6 separate regions of the Homo sapiens genome follow, and all the other regions are linked to region 2. The links are contacts of gene promoters, found by promoter capture Hi-C in blood cells and fetal thymus (Javierre and others, 2016). All regions are on one chromosome and are shown on one strand. The core of a region is centred on a gene start or on the middle of the fragment in contact, and the rest is flanking DNA. Distances in the headings are between cores, read along the strand shown.

Region 1 (4,009 bases), core at 1,016-3,515, 340 kb before region 2:
AAAATAGATGTGATTATTTTCCTGGTGAGAAAACTGAGGCTGAGGGTTGTTAAGTAACTTAACCCAAGGTCACCTGGCTAGGGAGAATGCTGCTGGGATTTGGCTCCAAACCAAATTTGGCTCATTTTCTTGTGAGTCACTGCCTCTTGTTACTTGCTCTAAAGCAGTGCTCACAAACTGGAAGCCCTTGAGTCAAATCCAGCTTGCAGATAGGTTTCGTTTGATCCATGCAACATATTAAAGAAGGAGGCTTTTTCTAACATAAACCCAGGTTTCCGGCTTCTGTTGAAAAATCCAAAGACCAGGTAACATTAGGGCTACTTTCCTGCATTTCCGACAGTATCTGGCAGGAGCTGAGTAGTTGCCCCTTAGATGGGCGTGACCTCAGTTCACCATCCTCTCCAGCAATCTAGTTGAGTTCAGGGAACTCTTCAAATATTTAGGTTACCTGTCAGGGACTGGAAGTGATTGAAGCTTGCAAATCCTGAATGAGCAATCTCATCTCCCCCAAAGAGAAAGTAAGCTTCTCTATCAGCTACCATTTTAAAGCTTGACAATGCCAGGAAAGTGTTTTACATCTTTTCCACCTTATCATTCATGACAGCCCTAGAAGGTAAGTGCAGTTATTTACATCCATTTTAACAGGTAAGGAAACTGAGTCTCAGAGGAGTTAAGTAATTTGCCTGTGGTTACACAGCCAACTGCTTAATGGTATTTTGTCCCTATCTGACTTCAGAAGTCTGTGTTCTGGGCCGGGACTTCTGAAACTTGCATACAAATTACTGAGGGCTCTTGTTCAAAATTCAGATTCTGATTCTACAGATTTGAGGTGGGGCCTGAGATTTTACATTTCTACCAAGCTTTAAGATGATGCTGTGAAGCTGGTTGAGGGACCACACTTTGAATAGCAAAGCTCTAGACTGGTGTCAGTAAAATACAGCCTGCTGGCCCAATGTGACCCTTTTCCTGTTTTGTATGGCTCATGAGTTACATTTTTAGATGGTTGGGGAAAAAATCAAAAGAAGAATGTAATATTTCACAACATATGAAAATTACATGAAATTCAGATTTTGGTACCCAGAAAAAAGTGTTATCTGAACAAAGTCATACTCATTTACTTACATCTTATCTGTGGCTCAGATATTTAGGTTACCTGTCAGGGACTGGAAGTGATTGGAGCTTGCAAATCCTGAATGAGCAGGTTTTCGTGCTGCAGTGGCAGACTTAAGTAGCTGCAGCCGAGATTGTATAGCCCAGAAAACCTAAAATATTTAGTATCTGGATCTTTACAGAAAATATTTGCTGACCCCTGGTCTGTATCACTACCTAGGGGAACATGCAAATAGCTTCTCTTAGTTTAGAATATAGGGATCTGAGAATCTTTTGGAATCAGGGCTAGAGGAAACACCCCCTCCAACTCAGATGAGAATGGTGGTAAAATCAAAGGCAACCAAAGAGCTAGGGAACAGACCAAAGCATTTTCTAAAGGGCGTGTGGAGATGAGCCTTGCAAGACAAGATCAATGAACCTCCAGTGGATTCTAAGCCCCTTGTAATCCCTTTAACGTTTCAGCTTTGCTGATAAATGTAGATTCAACTTGAGCATTAAAAGATGGGCTTTCCTAACAAGCCTCCTGGAGTCCCACTTTCATGGGCAACTGACATGGAATGCCCAGTGCAGGGGTAGTGTTGTGAGATCATTATAATTATGCAGAGTTGTTTGTCTCCAGACAACGGCTGCCTTTCCAGCCGGGATGCTTTGGCCGGGATGCAGTTGCTGCAGAGGCAGCACTCACTGGGCTAGCCAAGACTGCGACTTGAAAAGCCTCCCTCCTTAGTTGCCTGGGCGATTGTGTTGATTGATGACTGAGGCAGCAATTCGGGGTGATGCCGGCCTGGTTTCCTTTAATGGATTGTAATTTGGCTAAGAAATGGGTTCCCACTGATTATTTTGCTTGGAGAGGAAAAACACTCTGCCTCAGTCACTGACATGCCAAGAAATGGAAAACAAGGAAAGGCGTTTTAGGGGGTGGGGGTGGGGGGAAGCATAGATTGAGTTATTCCTAACATCAAGGCAGGGAAAGATACTTAGCTGATAAGAAGGTTGCAGGTTGGCTCACTTTATGTCATTGGCATTTAATAATACCCCTGATAGAAGTTGAAATACCTTACAGGGTTTTTTTCTCTACAGGAAATATATCAGTTTATGCCAGTATATCTGTATTATTACTTGTTTTTGGAAATAGACATAACTATTTTAAAAGATATTAAAATATCTCACACATGTGCAGAAATTAAAAAATACATATCATAGAGGAGGAACCCCTTCTTTTTCATACCTTCTAGACCAGGGGTTGGCAAGCTGCAGCCTGTGGGACAAAATTAGCCTGCTACCTGATTTGTATGGCCTGCTAGCTAAGAAGGGTTTTCATATTTTTAAATCGTTGAAAAAAAAAATCAAAAGAAGAGTAACATTTTTGTAGCATGTAAAAATGATACAAAATTTCAATTTCAGAGTCCATAAATAAAGTTTCATTGGAACACAGCCATGCCTGTTCATTTAGTAACATCTGAGGCTGCTTTTGCAGTAGCAGAGTAGTTGAGACAGCCCTTATGGCCTGCAAAACTGAAAGTATTTACTATCTGGCTCTATACAGAATCAGTTTGCTCACCCCTAAGCTAAAGATATATGTTGTTTATAGGCTGATATTATTTCCTTAGGTTCATTCAGATTATTTATTAATATTGCTTTAACAGAAAATACACATTCTACATATTGCCTTTTATAGCTTACTTTTTTCGTACTTAGAAATACTTTCTGGACATTTTTCCATGTCAGTATATAAAAGCCAAAAACATCTAATGTATTTATTAGTTTTCCGAATCCATTCTATGGATTATGATTGAGTCAAAATTTCTCCCTTCATGACCACGTTGGTTGTTTTCCATTGTTCCTAATTATATATCATATAATGATAGCTTTTCTCATGCTACAACATGCCTGTGTGTTTTTACCCAATTTTATGCTTCTGTGGTATAATTGGACTTACTAGGTGGGAGGAGGTTAACATTTAAAATTTTAAGCGCTCTTGACAAATTGTCCTCTGAAAAGATGGTGCCAATTTGCACCCGTATTCTTTTAAAAATTTGAGTACATTTATGTGCTCTTTGGGCTGCAACTTTGAAACATCTCAACTTGTATAGCAACCTGGTAATTAATCCTTGTTTAATCACCCCGAGTGACAATTTGTGCTTGATGACTACTGAGAAAACACAGAGCACTGATGTCAGTCATCTTTTGTTCAAAATAAATTTTATTTGTTTTTAACCATGAAAGCGATACCCACATTCTGTTGAAAGGTTGTCATTCGTCCTAATGCCTCTGTAGTTTAAGGTTGTTGGGATGAGTGAGAGCCTAATAAATTTGTTATTTCGTGGTTTCTTGGTTCAAAAAACTCAAAGGTTATCCTTTAACCATGTGATTAATGAGTACCCCAGAGGGATTTCCCTATGGAGAGAGGAAGCATTCCCTAATGGGAATGACTTCCAGATCTTGCGCTTTTTGAGATCAAAGGGGTTGAACCTGCCTGTGTATGGGAGAGTCATGGGGAACGATCTCTGGGGGAAATGTATATTTCTAGCCAGTGTCACAGAAACTTCTATGAAGCTTGTAAGGGTTTAAATGAAAGGATTATAGCCGAGTGGTTAAAGGGACTGGCTTTGAAGACATTGTTGGAATTGTAGATTTGGCTTTGTCTCTTACTAGCTGAATGGCCTTGGGCAAATGAGTTAATATTTTTGAGCCTTGATTTTTCTCATCAGAGAAATGGGGATACTACTGCTTGTCTCGTGAGGTTGTGGTGAGGGAATGCATGTAATGTGTCTCCCACTGTTCATGGCCTGTAACCTGGGCTTGATATATGTTTGTGGTTTCAAGAGGGTTTAATAAAGACAGGGTGCATGAGGAGGAAGAATATCTGGGTTCAAGGGCCTGGAAATTGTAGGTTATA
Region 2 (3,674 bases), core at 671-3,170:
CTAGCTCTGCAAGAATACAGTGAAGAGTAGGGAGAAGATCCTGGCTCCCAGGGGATTCATTCAGCTACAAACTTACATATGACCTTAATAAGTCAGGGTGAGTAGTTTAAAAAAGGGTCAAGTGCAATAGTGAGTGGTTGGCCAGAAGACAACTAACTTTGCTACTTTAGAAGGAGTGTTCAGAAATGACACTGCTGAGGAGGTGACATCTACACGAGGACTTTAACAAACAGAAGTCAGGCATGCAAAGGGAAGAGTTTTCCAAGGCCTGCTGGAATAAGCTTATTGTTGTGTTTGGGGAGACAGGGAGGAATGTAAGCACAGCTGAAGCAGAGTTAAGCGAGGAGGAGTGTTTAGTTGATTATCTTGGAGAAAGAGAAGAGAGCCAAGTCACGTAGGGCCTTAAGGTCTGCGTAAGGATTCTAGATTTTGCCAGTAATGAAAGTAACCACAGAACTACCCTTTCTAGAGGCAAGTACACAGTTATTGCTCATCTTTGGTCAACATTGGCCTTTCTGTTCATGCCCTGCATGCAAGAAGACCCTGGAGGAAAATCTGAGTTAATGAATCAGAAGAGAGGCATTTCTCCTCTCTAGAGTGAGCAGGTAGTATTTCCAGTCCCACCCACACATAGTCCAGGGGAATGAATGGCTTACATTTAGGTGAAACTGATAGTAGATGCTGGGCTTGTGCAACAGGACCCTCCTGCTCTGATCAAGCTCTTTTGTTTTTCAAGGGGGTGCCTCAGGTTATCCCGAGCTTTCCCGGGATGCAGAAGCCTGATACCAGAAGGCAGTACACCTCCCAGCAGAATAGAAGCTGCTCTTCTTCGAGGTCACCTCCTCACGGAAATAGGAATCTGTTCACAAGCAGGATGCTCTCAAAAACATTTCACTTCTGGGCTTATGAAAGACAGGTTCGGGAAAACAGCATGCTGGGGAATTAATAGTATTTGCTAAGTTATTTATGCTGACCCTAATTCTACTCAAGAGCTAGGTTGGAAAGCCCTGCAAAGATCATTGTGTCCACCTTTTGTTTCTAGACATGAGTTTGAAGATGTTTTCTTTCCTTTCTTACTAGAGTTCATCCACTCAAACCACTCATTCATCATCTTAGGTTGTTATCCTCTCCTCTCTGCTTTCATATTGGGGAGGCTCTGGAAGTGATTAGGCTGTTGTAAATCGGCTTTTATGATTTGTATGTAAGAGATAAGCAGCAGAGTAAGCAAGCGATTGGAGGCCCCAGCTGCTATTGCCCTGACAGTTATCCCAGGAACGAAATTGAAACAAAAAATTACTGGAGTATATGATATTTAGCTGATTAATTTCTTTATAGGCATATCCAATGTTAAAATTTGACCCTTTAACAAACATTGTTTTATTTTTTATTTATTTATTTGTTTATTTTTTGGAGACAGGGGCTCGCTCTGTTGCCCAGGCTGGAGCACAGTTGCACAATCTCGGCTCACTGCAGCCTCCACCTCCTGGGCTCAGGTGATACTGCCACCTCAGTCTCCCAAGTAGCTGGGACTACAGGCACGCACCACCATGCCCAGCTAATTTTTGTATTTTTAGTAGAGACAGGGTTTCACCATGTTGCCCAGGTTTGTCTTGAACTCCTGAGCTCAAGCAGTCCACCCTCCTTGGCCTCCCAAAGTGCTGGGATTACAGGCATGAGCCACCACACCTGGCCAAACGTTGCTTTACTTTTACTCCATTTTATTGAGATATAATTTACACAGAATAAAGCAAACCAATATTAAAACTACATCTCAGTGAATTTTTACACATGTGTATTGTTTTACAGCCACCATCCAGATTTAGTTATAGAACAATTGCAGTGCCCTAGAAGCCTTCTTCATACCCCCTCCTCCCACTGCCCTGACCTGTATCACTATAGATAGCCTCAGCCTGTTCTTGAACTTCATATAAATGGAATCATACAGCACATATTCTTTTTGCATGTCCAAGCATTTTCTATGAGATACATCCATGTTCTTGGGTGTAGTTATTCGTTCTCATTATTGTGTAATATTCCATTTTATCAGGGTTTCTTCTGAGACTGTTGACAGTTTGGTTTGGAAAATTCTGTGTGGAGGCAAGGAAGCCATCCTTCACACTGTAGGATGTTTAGCAACATCTCTGGCCTCTACCTACTAGACGCCAGGAGAATCCCATCCTAATAGTGACAACCAAAAATGTGTCCAGATGTTTCCAAATTTCCTTCAGAATTAAAAACCATCATATCAGATGAATATATTCTAATGTTAAAGAAACTTTTTATTTGGAAATAATTTCAGACTTAAAAAAAGTTATAAAAATAGAACAAACAACACCTGTAATGTACTCTTTACGTAGATTGATCCATTGTTAACCTTTTGCCACATTTGTTCTTTCATGTTCACATGCATGCACACACACGCACACACACACACATTTTATTTATAAACCATTTGAGAGCAAATTGCATCCATCTGGGCCATTTACCACCATATCCTTCCATATATATTTCCCAAGAGTAAAGATCTTCTCCCACATTATCACCATTATTAATTGACCACAGTAAATTTAGCATAATACTTTTATCTATTGCCCATGTTCCATTTTTTTTTCAGTTGACCAAAAGTTATCCTTTATAGAGGCAGTCCCCAACCTTTTTGGCACCAGGGACCGGTTTTATGGAAGATAATTTTTCCACAGACTGGGGCCAGGGGGTGGGGATGGCTTTGGGATGGTTCAAGTGCATTACATTTATTATGTACTTTATTTCTATTATTACTACATTGTAATATATACTGAAATAATTACACAACTCACTTTAAGGTAGAGTCAGTGGGAGACCTGAGCTTGTTTTCCTGCAACTAGACAGTCCCATCTAGGGGTAATGGGAGACAGTTATGGATCATCAGGCATGAGATTCTCGTAAGGAGCACACAACCTAGATCCTGCATGAGCAGTTCACAACAGGGTTTACACTCCTATGAGAGTCTAATGCTGCTGCTGATCTGTCAGGAGGCAGAGGTCAGGCAGTAGTTGGAGCAATGGGGAGTGGCTGTACATGCAGATGAAGCTTCCCTTACTGACCACTCACCTCCTTCTGTGTGGCCCTGCTCCTAACCAGTCTGTAGCCTGAGGTCTGGGAACCCCTACTTTATAGCATTTAGTTTCCCTAAAGAGCAGGTTCCAGTCCAGGATCAGGTATTATATGTAATTGCCATGTTTCCCTCGTACCCTTTCATCTAGAACATTCTCTCAGTCTTGTCTGGTCTTAAGACTACAGTCCCTTTTTTCATAACAAATGTCCCTCCTTTTGGCATCTGTCTAATGTTTCCTCCTGAATGCATTCGGGTAATACATTCTTGACTGGAATACTACATAAGGGATAGTGTGCCCTTCTGAGTACATCTCAACTGGAGGCATGCAGGGTGCAGTTGCATCTCACCAGGGATGTTAAGTTTGAACTTAAGGTCAAGGTGTTGTCTGATTTTACCTTTGTTTAGTTACTAATTCTTCCCTTGCAACTAATAAGCAATGTGTAGGGAAACACTTTAAAACAATGCTCTCCCCCATCAAATTTTACCCCCTAAATTTAGCACACTTTTTGATTCTTGTGTGAAGCACTCTACCTCCAATGGTTATAAAATGACTTTCCAAATCTGGCACCCCCTTCCTTCT
Region 3 (3,843 bases), core at 918-3,417, 290 kb before region 2:
ATAAATAAAGACAGCAGCATGACAAGCCCATTGAGGCTCATGTGACTACAGAGAGGGATGGTATAGCAGAGTGGTAAAGAGCATGGAACCAGACAGACCTGGGTTCAAGTCCTCACACCTCCTTTTACTATTTGTGAGTTGTTGGCCCAGTTGTTTAACCACTGGCTTCAGTCTTTTCATTTGTAAAATTGATATAATCATTACATATGAGAGAGAGGGAGTACGCATACATAGTTTTATTGTGAAAATTAAGAGGAATAACGGGTAGAACGTGCTTAGCACAATGCCCAAGACATAATAATTGCTGAATAAATGTTTGTAATTATTGTTGCTATTTCTGTTTTTAAGCAGTTATAGACAGTAAATAAACTCTACTCTAGCTTTGTAAGAAATGTGCAACCTTTGTTTGGAGGTACTTTAATATTTCCATTTATTGGTGACATCCCTCTTAGTTCTCAGTACAGTCCCAGTTTATAAATATAGTCATTCCTTGGTGTCCTTGAGGGATTGCTTCCAGGACCCCTGGGGATACCAAAATCTGAGGATGCTAAAGTCCATGGAATAAAATGGTATAGTATTTGCTTATAACCTATGCTGATCCTCCCACATACTCTAAATCATCTCTGAGGTATTTATAATATCTAATATGATGTAAATGCCATCTAAATAGTTGTTATACTGCATTTTAAAAATTTGTATTATTTTTATTACTGTATTGTTATTTTTATCGCCTTTTTTGTTTTGTTTTGTTTTTTGAGACAAAGTTCCACTCTTCAAGGCTGGAGTGCAATAACGCAGTCTCGGCTCGCTGCAAACTCTGCCTCCTGGTTCAAGCAATTCTCCTGGCTTAGCCTCCAGAGTAGTTGGGATTATAGGCGCCTACCACTGTGCCCAGCTAATTTTTGTATTTTTAGTAGAGACGGGGTTTCACCGTGTTGGCCAGGCTGGTCTCAAACCCCTGACTTCAGATGATCTGCACGCCTCGGCCTCCCAAAATGCTGGGATTACAGGCGTGAGGCACCATGCTGGCCTTTATTGGGTTTTTTTAAAAAAAAGTTTTTGATCCTTAGTTGGTTGAATCCATAGATATGGAACCCACGGATACGAATGGCTGACTGTATTTTTCCACGTGACTCATGTATCAACTGGAATACACCAGCAACACATCTCAGAAATGTCCACCTTTTGCCATCTAGACTGCTCTTCCCAGGATGTGTTTTTCAGCTGGAAGAACATAAAAATCCTAGTCGAGCCTACTGTGGGTTTTAGAGCATATGGCCACTGTCTCTCTAATTTACCAGGACTAGCATGGTCTCTTATTACATCAGTCACCCTGATTCTTCCTTGCTCCTCCTGTCCATGCTATTTGTGTTGCCCTCCCACTCTGACTCCGAGCTCACCCATGGCCATGGGACTGCTTTGGTCAATAGGATATCAGCAAACCTGAGGCAAACAGAGGCTTGAGGAAGTGCAGACATACTTCTGCTCTCGCTCTTCCACTCCCCCATCATCACAAGAAAGATGTGCCTAGTGAGCTGACCATTCCAGGGAAAGAATGAGAGGCACACGCAGTAGAGCAGAGTAGACCGGCCAGACTGAGCCGTAGTCAGCCAACCCCCAGGTGTGTGAGGGCATGCAGCCTAGATAGGCTGAACTCTGTAGATGCATGGAAAATAATTGCTGCAAAGGTCTTGCATCTGGCATGGTTATGCCACAGGTAACTCATAAAACCAGGTTTGGAAGCTTGATTTCTGGTGGTCAATTTTTCTACAGCAGAAGTATTGAATTTTTAAAAAAATGTTTAAAAAAATTTATTTTCCAAATATGTTTAAGCCTTAAAGGGAATGTAGCTGCAAGCTGGCAGATTTTCAGGAGTGCCTACCAGATTTTCATCTCATGGCAGGATGTTGTTAAAGTCTGTAGGGAAATAAAACCTGTGTACTCATTTGAAGCTGCTTGTAAGTGCCACAAACAATCCTCTGTAAAAATAAGGAAGGGGACTTTGTTTCTCTGCAGGATTCTACTTATAATTGCGTAGAATAGTGAGAGCTTGGGCCCTCAGATCACTACAAAGCAAACTCTTGGAGGTGACAGTGGCTGGTACAGGAGTGATGTGGACTTCTTGTGTGCTCTGCTGCTGAGGACACAGGATAGTACCAAAGGGCAAGTCATTCTTGCCCTGAGTATTCTACAAACTGGGGACATTCACCAGAAGACCCCATTGCCAGGGACTTTAGCAGGGAAAACACTCATGACCACCTGAATCTACCTCCTTTGGGATGCCTGGTCCCTGAGCTGTTTAGGGACCTGAACCTCCCCCATTATTGCACCTTCTACTAAGTGCTTGTTTGGGGGAAAGTCAAACTCCCACTTGACTATGATTGCTTAGAGGGCAGTGGGTGGGACTTATTCTTATTTTGTTTATCAACTGTCTGGCATGTAATGAATGGGTGAACCAACAAATGAGCAAATGGATGAATGAATTATGTTCCACTAAGTATTTACAGGTTGCTAGTTTGCTCTCCGTGGACTGCGAAAAGAGAAAGAGACATGTGTGATACCAGACAAGCTATGTAATCTTTTGAAGCTTTAGTTTTCACATGTGTAAAAGGCAGTAATAATAGTCATTGCTTCATAGGGTTGGAATGAAGATTATTCAACCAGGCCTAAAGGATGTGGCATAGTGCCTGGCACACTGTACGAGGCTGATACTAAGTCAGTGGTGGTGGTGATGATGCTGATAGCATTTATACTTTGATACGATACATTATGCTTACAGACATAATTTCCCCCAAAGAGAATCCATCTGCCAGCATTCAGCGGAAACGTCACCATGAGAAAGACAAAGTCCCAGTGGGAGTGAGGGTACTGCAGCTGGGAAAGGCGGAGGGGGCCATAAAATGGCACAGAGTGGGCAGAGAAGAGGACATCTAAGGAGAGACACTAAGAAGTAGGTGGCGTTTGAATGGTGGGTGAGATTTTGACAAAACCTAGTTTATGTGACACAGACTTCGGGCCTTCAAGGAATTCTGAGAAGGTACAGATCTGCCTTGGTTTGTGGACCTAGAGCTGGGAGAACTTGGTGAGGAAAGTGTAGCTGCCATTGGCTTTGGGAAAAAAAGAAGAGAATTCCCCTGGGAGTGAAAATAGAGGAGAAAGCCTTACTTTACTTCTCTTATTCCTTATAATTTTGCTTACTTTCCAAACAGGTATAGCACATTATAGAATACCTCCTTGGTTTCTTTTCCTTATTTCTCCTGTTTCTTTCTCCATTTCTTTCCTTTCTTTTCACCACTCATAAAAGACCACAGACTGTATCTGGACTCTAATTTCAGACACTGTTGCTTATTTATATTGTGGCTTCAGGAAAGATATTTTGCTTTCTGGGTCTTGACTTTCTCATCCGTGAAATGGGAAAATAATTCCTACTTCAAAAGGTTTTGGGGAAGGTCACTTAAGGTAGTGTATAATAAGGGTTAGGTTTAAGTGTTCTTAATGAATTATGGTGACCTTCATCATTCAATTTTTATTTCTTCTGCCACTCAAGTAAAAGGGATCCTGTTCACCCTACCTGAGATGCTTTTAATAAATCAGTATAGACCCAAAAGTTCCAAATGACTCAGCTTTATTTTGTGGCTCAGTGACCTCACTCTTCATCTGAGTGGTCCTCCCATTGGACAGTGAGTTGGTTACCATAATATGCCATCATATGCCCATGGATGTTTCCTTTGAGCATGTGACTTCCCTGAGCCCTTGCCTTCCACTGTCCAGTGGCTCCACATTCCACATCTTGCCTTTTAACCAAAGGGTGCCACTCCTATAGCTGATAACCAGTGTGCAAGA
Region 4 (3,549 bases), core at 46-2,545, 350 kb before region 2:
GGCAGTTTCTCACGTATTATTCTCATGATAGTGAATAAGTCTCATGAGATCTGATGTTTTTATAAGGGGCTTCTGCTGTGGCTTGGCTCTCATTGTCTCTTGCCAACATCATGTACAAAGTGCCTTTGGCCTTTCTGCCGTGATTGTGAGGCCTCCGCAGATATGTGGAACTGTGAGTCCATTAAACCTCTTTTTCTTCCCAGTCTCAGGTATCTCTTTATCAGCAGCTTGAAAACGGACTAATACAGTGGGTGTTATTTATCACAAGAGTTTGGTCTCTACTATAAAGATGAGGATGCTGAGGCAGGGATGCTAAAATTTTTGGCCACATATTAGCTGTATTGACTATGTAGCCAATATGTAATACGTAGCCAAAAATTTCAGCATGCAGGGGCATGCTGAAGATCAGGTGACTCCTGAGTCCTAGACCCTCCATTTCAAGTCCCTTCTCTCTGACTCTAACTCTCCAGCTGCCTGCTCTTAGGACTCTGACTTACCTGAAACATTTCTCTGAAGATGTGTTAGGAAGCTGTCTTAGTTTGCTAGGGCTGTCATAACCAAGTACCACAGACTGGGTGGTTTAAAAAACAGACATTTATTTTCTCCTAATTCTGCAGGCTGGAAGTCCAAGATCAAGGCTGGTTTCTTCTGAGGCCTCTCCCCCTGGCTTGCAGTTGACTGTCTTCTCCCTGTGTCTTCATATGGTCTTCCCTGTGTGTGTGTGTGTGTGTATTTGTGTGTCTGTGTCCTGATCTTTTCTTATAAGAACACCAGCTATATTAGGTAAGGAGCCACCTGAATGACCTATGTTTATCTTACTTACCCCTTTAAAGATTCTATTTCCAGATACAGTCACGTTCTGAGATATCAGGGATTAGGACTTGAGCATATGAATTTGCGGGGGGAGGGGTGGGGGTGGCATAATTCAACCTGAAACAGAAGCCATCAAATTTTTTCCCTCATTTCTTTCCCTTGAATATTATTATTGGAAGGACAGAGAGAGATTTTCTGAGCCCAAGGAATTGGAGCACCTGAGGGGAGGTGCTTATCTCCTGACCCCCACCCCCCTAGGTGACCTGGCTGGCCGCAGCTCAGCCCCAGAAGAAGTGGTATATTCGCACACTGGAGCCACAGTTAACCAGTTCCCAAACCACAGCTTCAATATTTTAGAATGCATAAAACATGAGATCACATTTAGCAATGGCACTGTTTTATTTGGCATCGCTGGGTATATCCGCGTGTGTCTTCATCTAAAATAATACTGATGCAGATGAGAAGCATTATTTATCATGTCAAAAATTAGAAACAACCTCAATGTCCAACAATGGGGTTTAATGGGATAGAATTTTATGCAGCCTTTGGAAACTGCTGTGGAAAAGTATTTGTGGTGTGAGAAAATAATCATGACAGATGAAGTGGGGGGAAAAAGCAGGTTGCAAAGAAATAGGTATAGTTGGATCCCAATTTTTTGAAAAAGGTTTATTACATGTACATATTTATAGGTATATATGTGTGTATATATGTGTTCATCTGGAAGGCTATACCCCAAAATATTTAAAATTGTTTTCTTGCAGTGATGGAATTATGTGTACTTTAAGTTTTTTTTTCTGTTTTTCTAAGTGTGTGTCCCATATTTTCTAAAATAGACATATTACTTTTGCAATTCAGGGGAAAACCTTAAAGATAAAAATCTTGATATCCACTCGGTTTATAGAAAGTTTCCTCTAACTTAGCCTTTTTCATAAGGAGCTGCCTCACAGCTTTCCACATATGGCTGCATTTACAAAAGTGTAATTTACTCACCGTTTTCCAGATACAGCTCTCAACCACAATTACCTGGATTCTAGAATAATTTTTGTGACTGGTCTGAGAACCTCTTCTCTATTTTTGTTTTTCCACCTGGCACTATTTTCTCATTAAAGGAGTTTTAGGAGTGAATGCAGAGAAAGCGTGGAGCCCCAAAGCCCTGGAAAAAAAAAAGCCCTTAAAATAAATAAATCAGTGGACTAGTTTAATGTGTCTAAAATATCATCCAAGGAGACCCAAAAAGAAGCAGGATGTAACTTCACAGTGACTTTGTTCCTTCTATTTCTCTTTACTTATTTGAGAGATCCTTTAAGCACACTTCCCTTTTAACAGAATGTGCTTTGGCTAAATACTCCTATGATGTTATGCTTTTACAAAGGAGAGGTTCGTGGAGGATAATGCTGTCAGGCTTGGAAGCAGCAGTAGAGATCACGTTGCCCAGCTCTTGGCATCATTGGTTCCCAAAGCTCTGAATCCCCTGGAGAGCTTTTGTAAAAGGTCAGTGCTCCACAACATGACAGAAATAGAAGGGGCCTGGGGCTGTGGGTTGTGAAAGCTGTGATTCTTTTGATGCTCAGCCAGGTTGAGGAACCCACTTCCCTACAGCTCCTGCATTCCCTCCTCAATGTCACAATAGGTGATTACTTGAACACTTGCAGAGATGGAAAATTCTCTTCCTCAAGAGCTAGGCTTTTCCATTCTCGGACTGCTGTGCCTATTGTAATTCTTTTTTTTTTTTTCATATACTCTAGATTCCTCCAATTCAGGGAGCAAAAAATGGAGACATTTTGTTAGTGTAACCCAAATAAATCGCAAGGCCCCATGTAGTCCAATCTCTGCGTAGAGCCACATCTTCCAAAGCGAAAATAATTACAATGGAAACTTTACCTGCAATACCCAGAGAACGTTATAAGGGGCCCAACTGATAACCCATGGTAGCATTTCTCAAAATCCTTTTCTCTTTCTTTCTTGATTTTCTCAATTATACCAAAGCTTCTCATTCACCACCCCAAACCCAAACATCTCCAAGAGCAGCCCACTTGCCTTTTCAAGCTCTCTGTCTTTGACCTCTGTTCTCTCTCAGCAATACAGTATTTAGGTTGATTTTGCCTGTCTGACTGCCTTCATCCCTCTCTCTGCCTTGCCCATTACCCAGACTTTTCACAACAAAGGAGAGCCCATGAAATGTCTAACAAAAATCTTTCCTCCTTTCTTCCGTTCTACCTGGGCCTGTTTCTTTTTGCCCAACATCCTGATTTTGCATTTTTTTAAGCCAGAAACTGGGGAAAGGAGAAGCAGATATCAAAGACAAAATTCCCTTTATTGAAAATGACAGGAAAGGGTTAAAATTGGGCACTGTTGCACATTAATAAGCCTTGTGTTCATCACAATAATGACTTCCCCATCTGCCATTGCAAGACCACAGACCCCTACATGGTTTACACATTTGCTCCTCATTCTTCTTGCCATCTCCCCACCCCTAACATGTGTCATAGGTGTTCACAAACAAATCCCATCAACTACCAACTCAGGTATGTATTTTTTTTCCCCATGCCCTACTCTAGTTCCCTCCCTCTGATAATGTCTATGGCTAAGTTCTTCCCTGATTACCATGTTGGGGGATATTAAACAATACTGCTTCATGCACCAGTGACTTATAGTGAATTATGCCATCACACTTAGAATTTTAGTCTCTTCATGAGCTAAACCTGATGACTTAATTTCTCTGTGTGTCAGCTTCCT
Region 5 (3,444 bases), core at 757-3,256, 310 kb before region 2:
GCCCTGAAAAATGAAATGTATTCATCTAAAAAAATTTAAAGGCGTATTACTTTCACTTAAACTAAAATAGCAGCAGTGATTTTTAATTAGATTTTTTTTAACACCCAAAGTTCCCAAGCTAGAATAGAAAAAGTCAGGACGGTTTTTGGAGAAAAAGTGATCTAAGTTTTATTTTTCTATTTTCTAATCATATTCTTGTTTTCTTCTTCTCTCTTTCTCTGCAGTAGCCAACATTCTAAAAATAATCTTGTGTTGGGTTTGTAAGTTTCCTCAGTCTGGCCTAGGATGAAATTTTTTTTTAAAAGATGTTATCATCACATTTGGTTTCCAGTGATAATTTACATGGACTTAGAAGAATTCCCCAAGCAAAATCTTGTGAGGTCAGCCGGGGCAAATGTTTAACATTTCGGCAACTTGTCTCCATGTTTATTTAGCATTTCTTAGCCTTTGAAGTTTCACATAAATAGTCATGAAGTTATCACAGAGGAAATCAGCTGAGATGGATTGATGTTATTCCCAAATGCAAGTCTAGTACCAGACGCTGGTTGGTATCTTGAAAAGATGGCAGCAGGAGCAGTATTATCTGCATCGTGGAAAGTCCCTCTTCATTGCCTGATAAACTGTGCTGTTACTGGTTCTCTTGATGGCTAACCTTACTGGACCTTCGATAAATCTTTTGAATTTTTATTTCATCCTGGTGGGATAAAGTATGAATTGAGGCTGGGCACCGTGGCTCACGCCTGTAATCCTAGCACCTTGGGAGGCTGAGGCAGGCGGATCACTTGAGGTCAGGAGTTCAAGACCAGCCTGGCCAACATGGTGAAGCCCTGTCTCTACTAAAAATACAAAAATTACCTGGGCATGGTTGTGCACACCTGTAATCCCAGCTACTTGGAAGGCTGAGGTGGGAGGATAGCTTGAACTCGGGAGGTGGAGGTTGCAGTGAGCCGAGATCATCCCATTTCACTCAAAGTGAGTGAGATTGAAACAGAAAAACTATGTTTTCAAACTATACCATTAATTTACCAGTTATATGAATTCCTCTGGTTGGGGAGGGGAGGATGTAAGTACCTCCAAAATACTCCCTAAAATACATGGCCATGTGTCAAGGCTGCCATCAAGCACCCAGGGAATTCAGAATAGAAAAATATATCAGACTCAATGGACTGGATAATTGTACTAATTACCTACTTTGCTTTGACCGTAGAGGCTGAATGTTGTGAAACATGTCGTGAGGCAGTTGTATTGCTCTTTACTGAAAGTCATGCCTCAGGCACCAATGTCAGCTCCAGAAAAATGATGATCCGGAGCTCTTGGTGGAAAATACAGCACCGTGAAGGCCTTTGTTGGAATCTGCCCTTTCCCCTGACCCCTTGTCCCCTCTTATAGCCCAGTCTGGAGCAGTGTGAGGCTTGAATCTGTGAGCCGTTTCAGGATAAGAATCCTGAAAATTCAGTGACTGATTCACGATTGAAGGATTGAAAGAGAGGAAAAAGTTCTCCATTGGGAAGCTGAGTGATGCTGAATACCTCAAACAAGAAAGATAGGAAGAGGAGGAGAGAAGATGTGGGGAGGGGAAAGAGAGTCTAATTTGAATAAGATGGGGTTGAGTGACTTGTAGACATTCTGATTGAGATATTCTGGCCTATCTTAGATTAGTTTAAGACTATGACTAGGGCCTGAGATAAAAATATTAGAGTCCTTAGTGTTAAGGTAGTTGCTATGGTTTGAATGTGTCCCCCCAAAAGCCTGTGTTGGAAATTTAATCCCCTATGCAACAGTATTGGGAGGTGAGGCCTAATGAGAGGTGATTTGATCATGAGAGCTCTGTCCTCGTGAGAGGACTAATGCCGTCTCTCAGGAGAGTGTTCCTTATAAAAGGAGGAGTTGGGCCCCCTGTTGCTCATGTGTGCTCCCTCTCCCTCCCTCACCAGATGCCAGTGCCTTGATCTTAGACTTTCAAATCTCCAGAGCTGTAAGGAATTAAATTTCTGTTCTTTATCATTACCACCTCAGGTATTCTGTTATTGCACCAAAAACCAGACTAAGACAACAGTTGAGGATTGGTAGTTGAAGCCATGAGAAAAACATGACCAGGTATAGACACTACATTGTAAAATAAACACGGTATAGTTATTGGCTACAGTGACACAGACCCCTACCTTCTCAAAACAAAGGGTAGCTTAAATGGCAATTAGTTGTGTGTGTGTGTGTGTGTGTGTTTGTTTGTTTGTTTTTGAGGCAGGGTCTCACTCTGTCACTCAGGCTAGAGTGCAGTGGTGTGACTGCAGCCTCGACTTCCTGGACTCAGGTGATCCTCCCACCTCAGCCTTCCAAGTATTAATAGGCGGGACTACAGGCGTGCACCACCACACCAGGCTAATTTTTGTATTTTTTGTAGAGACAAGATTTGGTGATATTGCCCAGGCTGGTCTTGAATTCCTGGGCTCAAGTCATCTACCAGCCTCAGCCTCCCAAAGTGGTAGGATTGCAGGTATGAACCACCTCGCCCAGCCAGTTGAGCATTCAGGAGTTGTATGCGAGCTTGATGCCTCCTCTGGAACCCATGCTTCTCTCTCTGCTCATCCATCCTCAGTGTGTCCTCTCATTCTCAAGGGGACAAGAGGGTTTCTTTCTGCCCAGCTCCCATTCCCCCACCTTGCACAATCACTATACTGTGTTTGAGGCAGAAAGAAAGGAAAAAGGAAAGGGGAAAGCAGTGTTTCAATTGAGTCATCTTCCTTTCATGGAGATCCACCCATGACTTCTATATATACCTCACTGGCTAGAATGTGGTCACATGACCATCTGTGTGGGATATTAGGAAATGAAGTTGAGCTAGATTTATTGCCATCCTGGGTATAAAATTAGGGTTCTGTTTAAGGCATTTGGGTCAAAGCAATGAGTAAATGAATGAATGAAGCATTAAGCACATGCTTATTGAATGCCACCTGTGTGTACAATGTGTAGATATTCTTCCTCGAGCAGCTTTCTTTTCTTTATTTTGAAGTCTTCTTTCAACTGGATCATGGCCAGCCCTAAATAAAATTATAAACTGTTCATTGAATACTATGGGTCAAGAACTGTTCTGTATTACTGCATTACGGAATTTGATCTTGACCCACAACCTTCTGAGGCTGGCACTGCTAAATCCATTTTATAGGTGGGGAAACTGAGACACAGAGAGGTTAAGTCACTTGCCTTGTGTCACACAGCTGGTGATACTATTTTCAATACTCTTGACTTCTTTTTTGGCCCCATAAAGCCAATCCAACTTCCCACCTTCTACAAAGTCCCTCACTTTTTGGTGCCCAGTTTTCTTATACCAATTCATTTCCTGAGTTAAAAGAAACTCCTCTCTACTTAAAGGTAAGGTGCTACTCACTGTTTTTAAAATAAAAATTACTGCAGATTTATATTTCCTAAGAAAATTTGCGTTTTAAG
Region 6 (3,696 bases), core at 38-2,537, 380 kb before region 2:
CAGGTGAGGGATGATGGTGGCAGAGAATATGAAGGGGCTTAGACAGATTTTAAATATATTTCACAGAGAAAAACCCAACAGGACTTTTAGATTGATAGGATATGGGGTGGAGAGGTGGGACTTATATTCAGCATCAGATCGAAGGGAATGCCAGCCATAATAGTAAAGACCCTGTGCTTTTAGATAGCCTGCAGCTAGAAGACCCTGGCAACATAGCCTAACGTTGAGCACAGGGCCCCAAAGAAGTCCATCTTCTCTATCTGCCTGGCAACAAAGAAGATTTCAGCAAACTTAGCAAGATCTAAGCTTATCCTAAGTTCTCAGAGGAGCCACAATGTGAAAGGGACTTTACGAAAAAAAAATCTGAATACTCAGCTAGGATGTTCCTGTTTTACAGCCCAGTCTCCTGGGAACACTCTGGGCACTGGCCCTTCTGGGGAGAACAGGGGACTGGATGGTATATCCAGGAGTGACCAGCAGGTGGCATGCCAGACTCAGAAATGTGTATTGCAGGGAGCAAGGCAACTCTTGCTGTTTGCTGCTTAAACAGAAGAAAAGGATTCACTCCGGAAGTAATACTCATGTGTGCCATGTACTAAATGGCTACTGTGTGCCAGATACTGTGCCAAGTGCTTATGTGTATATTCTCATTTAATCCTCATAGCTCTACAAGGTGAGCTCCACCACTGTACATATATTCAGAGATCTAAGTGGCTTGGGCAATGTCACTGACATGGTCATTGGCAGAACCAGCCTTGGTCCTCTAGCCTGTCTGACCCCATGGCCACTTTTCCTGTCAAAAGGGCCAGGATCCCCAGCGGCTCTTTCTTGTCCACAGTGGTGCTCTCACTCACACTTGGGGGTAATGCCCTTGGAAGGTGGGGCCATCAGAATTATCAAAGCCTTTAAAGTCAAACGCCCTGGGCTTTGCCGCTCACTTGCTGTGCGATGGTAAGAAAGCTACTTGGCCTCTCTATCCTCAGGTTTCCTCATCTCTAAAATGGGGTGAGGCTGGGCCCAATGGCTCACTCTTGTAATCCCAGCACTTTGGGAGGCTGAGGCAGAAGGACTGCTCGAAGCCCGGAGTTCGATACTAGCCTGGGCAACAAAGTGAGACCACGGCGCTACAAAAAAAAAAAAAAAAAAATTAAAATGCGTTGAGACGTGAGGCAGTGAGCTGTGGTGAGATGATCTTATGTAACTGACCCAGAATCTTGCTTGCTTGGCCCAGAGGAGTGCTCAATGAATGGCAGCTTTTCTGCTTAAAATGATTTCACAGGAGGTAGAGACAACTCTGAAAGGTCTAAAACTGTGCTATCCAATGGTGCTCTCTGCAGTGATAGAAATGCTCTATAACTGTGCTGTCCAGCAGCATAGTCATAACCACATGTGGCTATTGAGTGCTTAATACATAGCTAGTGCAACTGAGAGATTGAATTTTAAATTTTACTTAATTACAATAAATGTAAATTTCAATAACCATATGTGGCCAGTGGCTACCGTATTGGACAGTGCAAGTCTAAAATGTGTCTGCGCTCACAGTCTGTGTGTCCTTTACAGCCCCTTGGGTATGAAACAAAATAAGTTATGTTCAACATTTGGATCCTGGCATATAGCAGGCACCCAGTAAATTTGAGTTAGTCAGAAATGGGAGAGAAAGGAAAATCAGTAAGTGAAGCCAAAGCAATGTTTTACATTTAACAAATTGTGTAAAATTGTAGAACTGGACTCTCAGACTTCTCCAGCAAAATCTTCCAGAGTTCAGTAACCATGGGGGACTGACTGGGGCAGGTTGTTAGTTTTTTACCCTTTCAAGCCAGAATTCTCTAAATATTTCTTCAGCCTGTATTCGATGGGGACAGAGAACAAATGTGTTCAAGTGAATAACGTGTGTGTTCAATACAAATTCCTTTCATCTATTCACTGACTAAAGAACACTTCCTCCTTTTCTGTGCCCCCTCTTCAAATTTTTTTTTGCAATTTCACAAATCAGACAACTGCTTAGAAAGTTTATTCTCTCTCTCTCTCTCTCTCTTTTGTTTTGTGTGTTTGTTTTTTGAGACAGGGTCTCACTCTGTTGCCGAGGCTGGAGTGCAATGGTGAGATCTCAGCTCACTGCAGCCTCAACTTTCTGGAGCTCAGATGATCCTCCACCTCATCCTCCCAAGTAGCTGGGACTATAGGCATGTACCACCACACCCAGACTATTTTTGTGTTTTTTCTGTAGAGACAAGGTTTCACATGTTGCCCAGGTGGGTCTCAAGCTTCTGGGACCAAGTTACTTGCTTGTCTTGGCCTCCCAAAGTGCTGGGATTACAGACATGAGCCAGCATGCTGCGCCAAAAGATTTTAAAGGTTCAAAGTATAAATAACAAAACAACTGGCCCCCCAGGAAGCAGCACTATATCATGCATTTCTCACTTCCAAAATTTTATCTATCCAGATTTTGTTTTTAAGTGATGGTCAGTTGGCAATTCTTGCATGTTCCATAGTTGAATCTTGCAGTTTATAAAAGCTAGTGGCAAACATTTTCTCCAGAGGTAGGTCTGCATTGGCTGACACTGCCATTTGCTTCTATCTGAAGATAATTTCTAGTCAATATTGGGACCAATTTGCATTCCACCTGTGGTTTAAGAAAAATCTGAGTTAATAGACATCTTATTTCCAAAGTATCCCAGTGATGTGTAGTGGTCCTTGTGGACTGGCCCCCTGGGCTGCTGGTCCATTTCCTAACCTGGCTCTGACCCAGTTAAGACCAAGCCCCTCTCCTCCAGAGCATCCTGTTCTGGCCACAGGGCGGACATTCTTACCTATACCAGGCAGAACCTTTCTTACCTGTACAGGGCAGAGCCATTCGTTGCTCCTCACCATTCTGAAGACTTGTACTCTATCTGGGTGCCCTAGCTACCAACATGAAGTAGCGGTGATCACAGCTCCTTGAACAAGACCTATGGCTCTGACAACAAACAGCCCCATGAAAGGAGCTGCTTTTGCTTTTTGTATTTTTAACTTTTCCCTTCACTATACCTCAAAGCCCTCTAGGAACATAGAGAATCCTCTGCCAGAATGACATGTTCTTCTGTCTTTTATGGCTCTTAGATTCTTTTTTTTAAATTTTATTATTATAATACTTTAAGTTTTAGGGTACATGTGCATAACGTGCAGGTTTGTTACGTATGTATACATGTGCCATGTTGGTGTGCTGCACCCATTAGCTCGTCATTTAGCGTTAGGTATATCTCCTAATGCTATCCCTCCCACCTGCCCCCACCCCACTAACAGTCCCTGGTGTGTGATGTTCCCCTTCCTGTGTCCATGTGTTCTCATTGTTCAATTCCCACCTATAAGCGAGAACATGCGGTGTTTGGTTTCTTGTCCTTGCAATAGTTTGCTGAGAATGATGGTTTCCAGTTTCATCCATGTCCCTAAAAAGGACATGAATTCATCATTTTTTATGGCTGCATAGTATTCCATGGTGTATATGTGCCACATTTTCTTAATCCAGTCTGTCGTTGTTGGACATTTAGGTTGGTTCCAAGTCTTTGCTATTGTGAATAGTGCCACTATAAACATAAGTGTGCATGTGTCTTTATAGCAGCATGATTGATAATCCTTTGGGTATATACCCAGTAATGGGATGGCTGGGTCAAATGGTATTTCTAGTTCTAGATCCCTGAGGAATCGCCACACTGTCTT

Evidence for each region. The method cuts DNA at HindIII sites, captures the fragments that hold promoters and counts their contacts. A CHiCAGO score of 5 or more calls a contact.
Region 1: a fragment that was not itself captured here is called in contact with the fragment with the promoter of PRICKLE2-AS2 in region 2 in 1 of 17 cell types (megakaryocytes); the score reaches 5.1 in megakaryocytes.
Region 3: a fragment that was not itself captured here is called in contact with the fragment with the promoter of PRICKLE2-AS2 in region 2 in 2 of 17 cell types (megakaryocytes and endothelial precursors); the score reaches 9.3 in megakaryocytes.
Region 4: a contact is called between a fragment that was not itself captured here and the fragment with the promoter of PRICKLE2-AS2 in region 2, in 1 of 17 cell types (naive B cells). The highest score is 5.0, in naive B cells.
Region 5: a contact is called between a fragment that was not itself captured here and the fragment with the promoter of PRICKLE2-AS2 in region 2, in 1 of 17 cell types (megakaryocytes). The highest score is 6.3, in megakaryocytes.
Region 6: a contact is called between a fragment that was not itself captured here and the fragment with the promoter of PRICKLE2-AS2 in region 2, in 2 of 17 cell types (endothelial precursors and megakaryocytes). The highest score is 7.6, in endothelial precursors.

Annotation. Positions count from the first base shown.
Region 1 is chr3:64,436,816-64,440,824 of GRCh38, reverse strand. No RefSeq gene overlaps it. Among named protein-coding and RNA genes, the nearest start is that of PRICKLE2-DT, 6.4 kb to the left of the region's middle. The HindIII fragment of the contact is 2,806 bases long and covers 863-3,668 here.
Region 2 is chr3:64,101,716-64,105,389 of GRCh38, reverse strand. It overlaps PRICKLE2-AS2 (PRICKLE2 antisense RNA 2), which reads right to left and starts at 1,920. Exons shown (of 4, transcript NR_046701.1): 1 at 1,886-1,920; 2 at 657-897. The region is part of intron 7 of PRICKLE2 (prickle planar cell polarity protein 2); the gene reads left to right. It overlaps PRICKLE2-AS1 (PRICKLE2 antisense RNA 1), which reads right to left. Exons shown (of 3, transcript NR_045697.1): 3 at 2,259-3,674. The HindIII fragment of the contact is 2,788 bases long and covers 284-3,071 here.
Region 3 is chr3:64,391,005-64,394,847 of GRCh38, reverse strand. No RefSeq gene overlaps it. Among named protein-coding and RNA genes, the nearest start is that of PRICKLE2-DT, 52 kb to the left of the region's middle. The HindIII fragment of the contact is 844 bases long and covers 1,746-2,589 here.
Region 4 is chr3:64,455,630-64,459,178 of GRCh38, reverse strand. LOC105377123 (a long non-coding RNA gene) reads left to right here. Exons shown (of 8, transcript XR_940913.3): 7 at 2,186-2,304. It overlaps PRICKLE2-DT (PRICKLE2 divergent transcript), which reads right to left. Exons shown (of 4, transcript NR_183714.1): 4 at 3,109-3,549. Among named protein-coding and RNA genes, the nearest start is that of PRICKLE2-DT, 12 kb to the right of the region's middle. The HindIII fragment of the contact is 3,013 bases long and covers 1-2,801 here.
Region 5 is chr3:64,408,269-64,411,712 of GRCh38, reverse strand. No RefSeq gene overlaps it. Among named protein-coding and RNA genes, the nearest start is that of PRICKLE2-DT, 35 kb to the left of the region's middle. The HindIII fragment of the contact is 5,040 bases long and covers 1-3,444 here.
Region 6 is chr3:64,481,378-64,485,073 of GRCh38, reverse strand. The region is part of intron 3 of LOC105377123 (a long non-coding RNA gene); the gene reads left to right. Among named protein-coding and RNA genes, the nearest start is that of PRICKLE2-DT, 38 kb to the right of the region's middle. The HindIII fragment of the contact is 1,958 bases long and covers 309-2,266 here.